Regions from separate parts of the Homo sapiens genome. Here regions 1 and 3 are each linked to region 2. The links are contacts of gene promoters, found by promoter capture Hi-C in blood cells and fetal thymus (Javierre and others, 2016). All regions are on one chromosome and are shown on one strand. Each heading gives the region's core, a stretch centred on a gene start or on the middle of the fragment in contact. The rest is flanking DNA. Distances are from core to core; before and after follow the strand shown. Region 1 has its middle 3.8 kb from the start of RAB5A. Region 2 holds the start of NR1D2 (nuclear receptor subfamily 1 group D member 2). Region 3 holds the start of ZCWPW2 (zinc finger CW-type and PWWP domain containing 2).

Region 1 (2,727 bases), core at 227-2,726, 4.0 Mb before region 2:
ACCACGTCTCTACTAAAAATACAAAAAAAATTACCCAGGCGTGGTGGTGGGCACCTGTAATCCTAACTACTCAGGAGGCTGAGGCAGGAGAATCACTTGAACCTGGGAGGCAGAGATTGCAGTGAGCCGAGATCGCACCACTCCAGCCTGGGTGACAGAGCGAGAATCCATCTCAAGAAAATAAATAAATAAAAATTTAAAAGTACCACTTCTAAGGTCAAAGATCAGCACATTTCATTGAGCTCCAACCTTTTGCCTAAGGCATAAGCAATAGAAGCAGCAGTTAGCTCATTGATAATTCTCAGTACATTGAGATAAGCAATAGTTCCAGCATCTTTGGTAGCTTTGATGCTGAGAATCATTAAACCAAGCTGATATTGTGACCACAGCATTGGTAACACTCTTTCCAAGGTAGGCTTCTGCCATTTCCTTCATCTTTGTCAGAATAACAGAGCAGCTGTCCCCAACCTTTTTGGCACCAGGGACCAGTTTCATGGAAGACAATTTTTCCACAGACCAAGTTGCAGGGGGTAGGATCGGGGGAAGATAGTTTTAGGACAATTCAAGCACATTACATTTATTGTGCACTTTATATTATTATTACATTGTAATATATAATGAAATAATTATATAACTCACCATAATGTACAATCAGTAGGAGCCCTGAACTTGTTTTCCTGCCACTAGACGGTCCCATCTGGAGGTGATGGAAGAGAGTGACAGATCATCAGGCATTAGATTGTCATAAGAAGTGCTAGATCCCTTGTGTGTGCAATTCACAATAGAGTTCACACTCCTATGAGAATCTAATGCTGCCACTGATCTGACAGGAGGGGGAGCTCAGGTGGTAATGTGAATGATGGGGAGCAGCTGTAAATACAGATGAAGCTTCACTGACTTGCTGCCACTCACCTCCTGCTGGGCAGCCAGTTCCTAACAGGCCACAGTCCAGTACCAGTCCATGGCCCTAGAGGACACCTTTCTGGACAGAAGTTTTTTTTATCTCTCCCTTGTATTCTACTTGGACCTTGGGCCTGCCAACATTATTCACTACCATGAAGGGCCAATGCTTCATATCAGACTGGACAACAGCATAATCAAGTCTGTGTCCAATCAGCAATCAGATTTGGCATCAAAAACTGTGTTCATGGGGTTCATTGCAACTTGATTCTTTGTGGCATCACTGAGCAATTGTTCAGTATCAGTAAAGGTGACATAGCTTGGAGTGATTCAATTTCCCTGATCATTGGCAATTACCTCTATTTTTACATGCTGGAAAACACCCACACAAGAGTAGATGGTGCCAAGATGAATACCAACTGCAGGTCCTTTAAACAGGGTTGTTTGCATGTAGGCCGGATTGGATTCTGAAGAAAGACATAGGAACCCCAAAAGTGGCCACAGCATTCAATAAATCCCCATAAATTCTTCAAATGACTTTGCAGTATGTAAATCCAGGTAAGGGCTCATTCAATTCATTCATTCATTCTACAAACAGGTATTGAGTCCCTCCCTATTTTGTGTCAGTGTTGGGAATACAGTTAGCCCTCTGTATTCCATCGAAAGTATTTGAGTTAAAAAATGAAAAAAACACAAAATAATACAAATTAAAAAAATACAACTATTTACATATCATTTACATTGTATTACTTATTGTAAGTAATCTGAAGATGATTTAAAGCATACAGAATAGCCTACATGCAAATACTACACCATTTTACATGAGACTAGAGCATCTGCAAATTTTGGTACCCATATGGTGGGGGAATAAGGGAGTGTCCAAGAACCAATCACAAGCAGATGGACTGACTGTATAACCCAACCCCTATCTCATGGAGCTTATATTCTAGTAGGGATAGATAACCATTAAGTGGAACGATGCGTAATATCATATCAAATGGTGCTAAGTGTTATGAAGACAATGCATAATATCATATCAAACAGTGCTGTTATGAAGACAACAGACTACTTCGATATGTAACAAAGCATTTAGAATTAGTGGGCTTAGAAGTCCCTTAGGTAGATGACATTTGAGCTGAAGCCTGAATGATGCCCTCCAAAGACACAAGCTTTTGAAACATGACTAGCTTAAGTTTTCACAGCCTTTTATTCACTGACTTGCTACTACGCCAATGTTAGAGTTACCGTTGGTTTGTCTCCAGGAAAAATTTTGAATTGTCTCCAGACAGTTCCAGTTAAAAGTAAATGTAACCATTCATTATCATCTATGCAAAGATTCATTCTTTAGCTACACAAGGGAGGACAGATTTCCTGGAAGAGAAGGAAAAGGTTATGGGATCCTGTGAATGGTAGAGAGACACCTGCCACTGGGAATTTGTTATTGAGTATTTAGAGATTTGAGGGCAGTATAAGCATCAAAGACAGTGTTTAAGTCTTCATGATTATTTATCCATTTTGTACCTTCCTTAACAAGTTCTATCAACTGGTAGGACTCCACATTTGACACTAAAATATATACAATTATCAGTCCTCCTCAGTTATCTGGGGCTATGAAAAAGAAAACATAGGCATATTGCAAGTGGCAATAAAACAACAGAGCTTTACTGTGTCATTTCAATTTCTCTAAAACTACTACCGGATCTTTAGAAATGCCAGCCACCAGGGCAGCACTCTTCCAGGCAAACATTATGACTAAACTGTAAAATATTGTGAAAAGTATTCATGAAGGAGGTGAAGACAAAATCACTAAACAGGAACGAGTGAAGA
Region 2 (2,700 bases), core at 136-2,635:
AAGTGTAACACGAAGCCATTGGAGGGTTTTCAGCAGAGTAATCAGATCTTATTTACATTTTAAAAATAATACTTTGACTGCTGGGGAGAAGTGACTGTAGGAGGACCCAAGAAGCACTCTCCTAGTTAGGGAACCAGAGCAGTAGCTGAGGCAAGAGATAATGGTTTGCTCTAGCAATACCAACGGTGAGAAACAGGGATTGAACATATTTTGAAGGTAGAATAGCTCAGACTTGCTAATGGATTGAATGGAGAATAAAAGGCTGTGAGAGTGTTAGGAGAGAAACATAATTTTGCTGGCTTCAGGAACTTGCAGATTTACCAAAACAGTAAATATTGATATGGTGAAGAAACCTGGGGGGTGGGGAAATAGGGTGTTGCACATGTAAATATGTCTTCCACGTGACATTTTCCCCACCTTCTATAGTGAAGAATTTCAGAGCAAACTGGAAAGAGTTTTACAAGCAACACCCATATCCCCATCGCCTAAGTTTAACATCTTACCATATCATCTATTCATGCCTCTATCAGCCCATCTTACTTCAGTAATGCGTTTAAATTGCGGGCATCAATGCACTTTCCTCAGAATTCACCTCAGCACGCATACAATTTATGTCTAGCTTTTTTCTTTTGATCTAAAATTTACATTCAAGGTGAAACGCCCAGATCTTGACTGCACATTAGCTGAGTTCGGACACACGCGTACACCCGTCTAAAATCTGAGATGCAAAAAAGCGGCATAATCAAACGGGCTGCTGGATGTAGGAATCTGGAGATTAGAAGAGAGGTCTTGGCTTGAAATATAAATCTGGGAATCACAAGAACATAGGTCTACTTAAGCTATGAGATTGGATAAAATCACCTAGAGGGTGCAGAGGGAAAGGGAAGGGTCTGTGCCCTCAGAGACCAGCGTTTGGAGGTCGGTCGGGTGGGAGCGGGGGGTGGGGGTGGGGGGCGCAAGGGTTGAGCAAGCCCGAACCAGCCGGCCCAGCCGGGGTCCTGAGAATCACCCTTGCTCGGCGCCAAGCCACCGCTTTGACCTAAGAGCCACCAGGTTGGGGGGCAGGGCGTGGAGAGGACTCCCGGCCAGAGGCGGGAAAGGCAGCCGGGAGGAGAGGAAAGAGGAGGAGGAGGGGAGGAATATGCGGCGGAGGGAAACGGAGAAGAGGTTTACGGCACGGAGGGGAAAAACGAAGGAAGAGGAGGGGCTCGGCAAGGAGAAGGAAGGGGAGAAGGGGGAAGCGCAGGAGAAAAGGGTAGCCGGGGAGCCGGGAAGCGGGCGGGAGGGAGGGGAGCGGCGGGGCGGAGGTCGCCGCAGCGGCCGGCCGAGGGCGGGCGGAGGGAGGGGGTGTGTGCGCGGGTCACATGGTCGCGGCTGCCCTCCCCGTCAGCCGCCCTCGCCGCCGCGGTGCGCTGGCTGCAGGAAGCCGCCGCGCCGCCGCTTTTGTTGTCAGGGACCCAGCGAGGAGCGCCGCTCGCCGGCCGCCGCCACCCTCTCTCGCTGCAGCCTGCTGTGCGCTGCACGGCCTGGGGCCCGGGAGCCCCGCCCGCTCTGCCCATGAGGGGGCCCCGCGACCACCGCTGCTTCCAGCCCGGGGCGGCGCGGCGCTGAGGCGGCGGCGGCGGCGCTGCCCCCTCTGCGGGAAGCGGGCGGCCCCGGCCGCCTCCGCGAGGGCACCATGGAGGTGAATGCAGGTAAGAACCGGACTGCGGCGGGTGGGGGATGGCCGGAGGGAGCGCTCAGAGCCCGCGGGGCACTTTGGGGGGCGGCGGCAGGGGGTGTCCCCATGGCCGGTGGGGCGGGGTGGGCTGCTGCGCGCCGCGTGTCCGCCTCTGGCTCGGTTCCCATCGCCCCCCGGGCCGCCCGGCGCCCGCCCTCTTGTCTCCCTGCAAAGCCGCAGCGCGGCCTGCCGGCGCCCGGCCCGGCCCCCCCCTCACATGGCCCGGCCGCGCGAGCCACGTGCGCGCTGTGTTTACGTTCGGCGGCGCGCGGGCGCCGGTTGGCTGGGCGGGCGCGTGACGCGGCATTACATAATGGGCGCTGAGGCGGCGGCGGCGGGCGGGGACACGTGAGGCCGCTCGGCTCCCTGACCCACATTCCCCGGGGCCGCAGGGACACGTGGGGGCGGGGGCGCGCGCGCGCGCGCTGGCTGGGAGCGCCGCAGCCTCCCGGGAGGCTCCGCCCCTTTGGAAGCCTCGGGGCAGTGACGTCGCCGCGATTCCCTCCTCCCCCGCGGGGTTGCACACTGCGGAGGAGGCCGCGCGTGCGCGCCCGCTGAGCCCCCGCGGCGGGGCGTCCCCGAAGCGGGCGCTGACACCGCAGTGCACCGGACGCCGCACGCTCTTTTCGCGAGGTGACCCCAAGGCGCGGACCCCGCGCAAACCAAACGAACCGGCGCCTGGGGAGGCTGGTAGCTGCATACCTTGCAGATTCCGAGGAGGAAGTGCAGGACGAGGGCGTGCTGCAGGCCGGAGGAGGCGCCTCGGGGAAGGCGTGGGGCTTTCCCGAAGGGATACGCTCGAAGGAGCTCTGAGGTGCTTCGATCCCGAGCGACTCCCCGCAGACTGGGTAGCACCGCCCCTGTTAGGATGCCGTCTGTTTACAAAAAAAACCGTTTGCTCTAGGACGCGACCTGTCTCATACACACACAGTCTTAAAAACTGCTTCCAGATCCCTTCGGGCTGGAGTTTTCCAGTAAAC
Region 3 (2,700 bases), core at 80-2,579, 4.4 Mb after region 2:
AAAGAATCTCCTCAGATTACAGGTGGAGAAATTGAGACATGAAAACATTAGAAAGTAGGGGAGCCAGAAATGAAAATCAGGCAGCTGACTCCAGAGCCAGCATAACTCTTAGAAACTATGCTTTGGTGCCTTAGAGTATGTATTACACCCATTTCAGAGATAAGGAAAATGAAGAAAAAGTTTAGCCTCTTACCCATTGTCAAGTAAATGGAAAAATCAGCATTCAGATACTGGTGTTCTGACCTAATCCAGTGTCATTTCCCATTATGTTATGCTGTCTCTTTAATATTAAAACCTTCTACTTGCGTAAGATGTCTGGCTTACAAACAATATCACATTAAAATTTGGAAATATCCTGTAAAGGATGCACTGTTCTCAATTTACAGATGATGAAATGATCACAAGATTGGGCAATGAGATATGGCGTTTTTAGAGAAATGAAATTCTGCCTTGAGATCTTGCTCAATCCAATTTGAAATTCCAATCTAAAAACCAAAATGTCTTCTACACATAAGGCGCAAGGGTCAATTTTAATTCTGGTACGTCTGTCTTTGATCACCTTAGCAAATTTCCATCACCTCTTGGAGCAACTGATGGTTTGATTTGTACTAGAGTTTTCGTGGGTATTTTATCTCGCTTTCGAGTATTGGGGTTTCTTTTGTGTAGAGGGTGTCAGCCTACCTTGCACGTAGTAGTAGTTACTCAACAAACAGCCGAAGGCTGGAATGAATACCGTATACAGGTTAGACATTGGAGAAACGACGAATACCTGTTAGCCCTCGATCAAGTGCAGGGGGTCGATATTCACCACTCAGATGCCCCAGGGAGTACCGTCCTAGCCAATGTCCCTCTTTTCTTTCCGATAATTTGTATCGGAAAGAAGCATTTAGCAGTCTCAATGAATGAAAAAAAACTGAAGGCGCCCCAGTAAGAGTACGAAAAGAAAAGGAGTAATTAGAGAAGTGAATGACCAAGAAGGGCCTGGACAGCTGGGGGTGAGGGTGACAGGGGAAAGGGTGTGGACAGCTGGGTGTGGGGGTGACTGGGGAAAGGGATGCCCAGGAGTGGGCCGCTCCCTAGTCAAAGGAGGGGGCGCGGGAGGGAGTGAGAAAAAAATGACGTGTCTTTTTGGACCGGCAACAGCTACGGAGGTTGGCCGCGGCATTGCCCGCATCCCTATCCTCCACCCGTCCCTGGCGAGTCACTCACCCAGAAGCCAGGCTACGTAGGGCCGCCCCCAAGGCCGCCGAGTTTCGATTCCTTAGTGTTTGGAAACGGACCGAAAACAAACCGGGTCGCCAGGGGTCACCACGGGCTTCCGGTTTCTTCGAAGACACCGCCGCTTCCACAGCGAAGGGAGCTGCTCCGGGCACGTCGCGGAGGGAGTCCCATTTCTTCTGACTCGGCAGGAGCCCGGGACGTTCTGGAAGGAGGGACGAGCCGAGGCAGGAGGGGCCGGGCCGACGCGAGAGAAGGCCCGTTACCCAGCAATACGCGCGCGAGACCCAGGCCCGCCGTCGGGACCAGCACGGGCCGGAGGGAGGGGAAGCACTCCGGAAAGTGATTGGAAGTGTGGATGAGCTCTCAGCCGGAAAAGGGGCTGCCGCTGTCCGCGGGCTCGGCGCCAGGGACGCGCGAGGAAACCGGAAGTCAGGCCCGAGGGAGCTGGGAGGGCGTTAGCGAAGCCAGGTTCGGTCGTGGGGGTGGGGAAGTGCAGGAGTGGCGCGCGGCGTACTACATGTCCCGTGAGCCTCCGCGGCGGGACGGGGCGGGGCCGCGGGACGCCAGGAGGCGGAGGCGGAGTGGAGTTAGGTAAGAGCGTTACCAGCCGTCTTGTCTGTTGGGCCGAGGTCCCCCTTCAGGGGCGCCCTCTGGTGCGTCTTTTTCACTCAGTGTCCTTTTGGGGGGTCCCCGGGCCGTGTGGTGCGTGCTGGCTCGGCTCAGTAGCGCTGTTACAGGCTTACGAGCTGACGTGGCTGGGAACTGGGAAGTCTGTTAGAAGCCGTTCCTCTGTAGCCTCTGTTTTCTAAACTACTTGCAAGCCCTCAGGCGATCACTTGAGGCACAAGCTCGACGAATTGCGTAGGGGTCTGTAATTATTCACAAACGACACCACGACTTCTAGCACACTGCTCAATTTATGGAATGAGAGACAGGGAGAAGATGCCAGAGTACTGGAGTTGCGCCCGGCTTCCCTGGAGTTGCCACCACCTTGGTTATTTCTAGATGATAGACCGTCCCTAGCTGTGGAGTCACAAGTAGTTGAATTAATTAGTCATTGAAGGTCGCAGCCAGGTGGAACCCCTGTAACTCTAAGGTATTATTGGTTAAATAAACAAATAAACAAGGAACAATAATTATAGAAAATTTAACGTCACTAACCGCCGATTAGCAATACGGACATTACTCACCACCCCCTTAAAGTAGTATTTTGTCATCTGTCCGCTTAACTATCAGCCCAACTGTCAGCCCAATAGGATGGATTTCACTCAAGGGTTTATATGAAAATTCGTTTTTATTGTTGTTGGTTTTTTTATTGTCTTTTTTGGTTTAGATTTAAGTGAAAATTTATAGCTGTTAGGAACAAAGACCACAAGTTGAAGTTTTATGACATTTCTAAAAATACTTAGAAATCTGTGTTAATGTTATCGTTGAGAAAGGAAACGATTTGCTTCAATTTACTGGGCTGGAGAATGGAAG

Evidence for each region. The method cuts DNA at HindIII sites, captures the fragments that hold promoters and counts their contacts. A CHiCAGO score of 5 or more calls a contact.
Region 1: a contact is called between a fragment that was not itself captured here and the fragment with the promoter of NR1D2 in region 2, in 1 of 17 cell types (non-activated CD4 T cells). The highest score is 7.0, in non-activated CD4 T cells.
Region 3: the fragment with the promoter of ZCWPW2 here is called in contact with the fragment with the promoter of NR1D2 in region 2 in 1 of 17 cell types (neutrophils); the score reaches 5.7 in neutrophils.

What each region holds. Positions count from the first base shown.
Region 1 is chr3:19,941,979-19,944,705 of GRCh38, forward strand. It overlaps a transcript of EFHB not described here and the pseudogene HSPA8P18. Among named protein-coding and RNA genes, the nearest start is that of RAB5A, 3.8 kb to the right of the region's middle. The HindIII fragment of the contact is 1,181 bases long and covers 887-2,067 here.
Region 2 is chr3:23,943,901-23,946,600 of GRCh38, forward strand. NR1D2 (nuclear receptor subfamily 1 group D member 2) reads left to right here and starts at 1,386. Exons shown (of 8, transcript NM_005126.5): 1 at 1,386-1,694. The coding sequence starts at 1,679. It overlaps LOC124909354 (a long non-coding RNA gene), which reads right to left and starts at 1,280. Exons shown (of 2, transcript XR_007095845.1): 1 at 1-1,280. It also overlaps a transcript of NKIRAS1 not described here. RefSeq lists silencers at 1,250-2,439, 1,936-2,477. The HindIII fragment of the contact is 14,696 bases long and covers 1-2,700 here.
Region 3 is chr3:28,347,392-28,350,091 of GRCh38, forward strand. It overlaps ZCWPW2 (zinc finger CW-type and PWWP domain containing 2), which reads left to right and starts at 1,330. Exons shown (of 10, transcript NM_001040432.4): 1 at 1,330-1,812. AZI2 (5-azacytidine induced 2) reads right to left here and starts at 1,433. Exons shown (of 8, transcript NM_022461.5): 1 at 1,210-1,433. RefSeq lists enhancers at 1,300-1,359, 1,547-2,527, 1,627-1,921, 1,960-2,039. The HindIII fragment of the contact is 7,230 bases long and covers 1-2,700 here.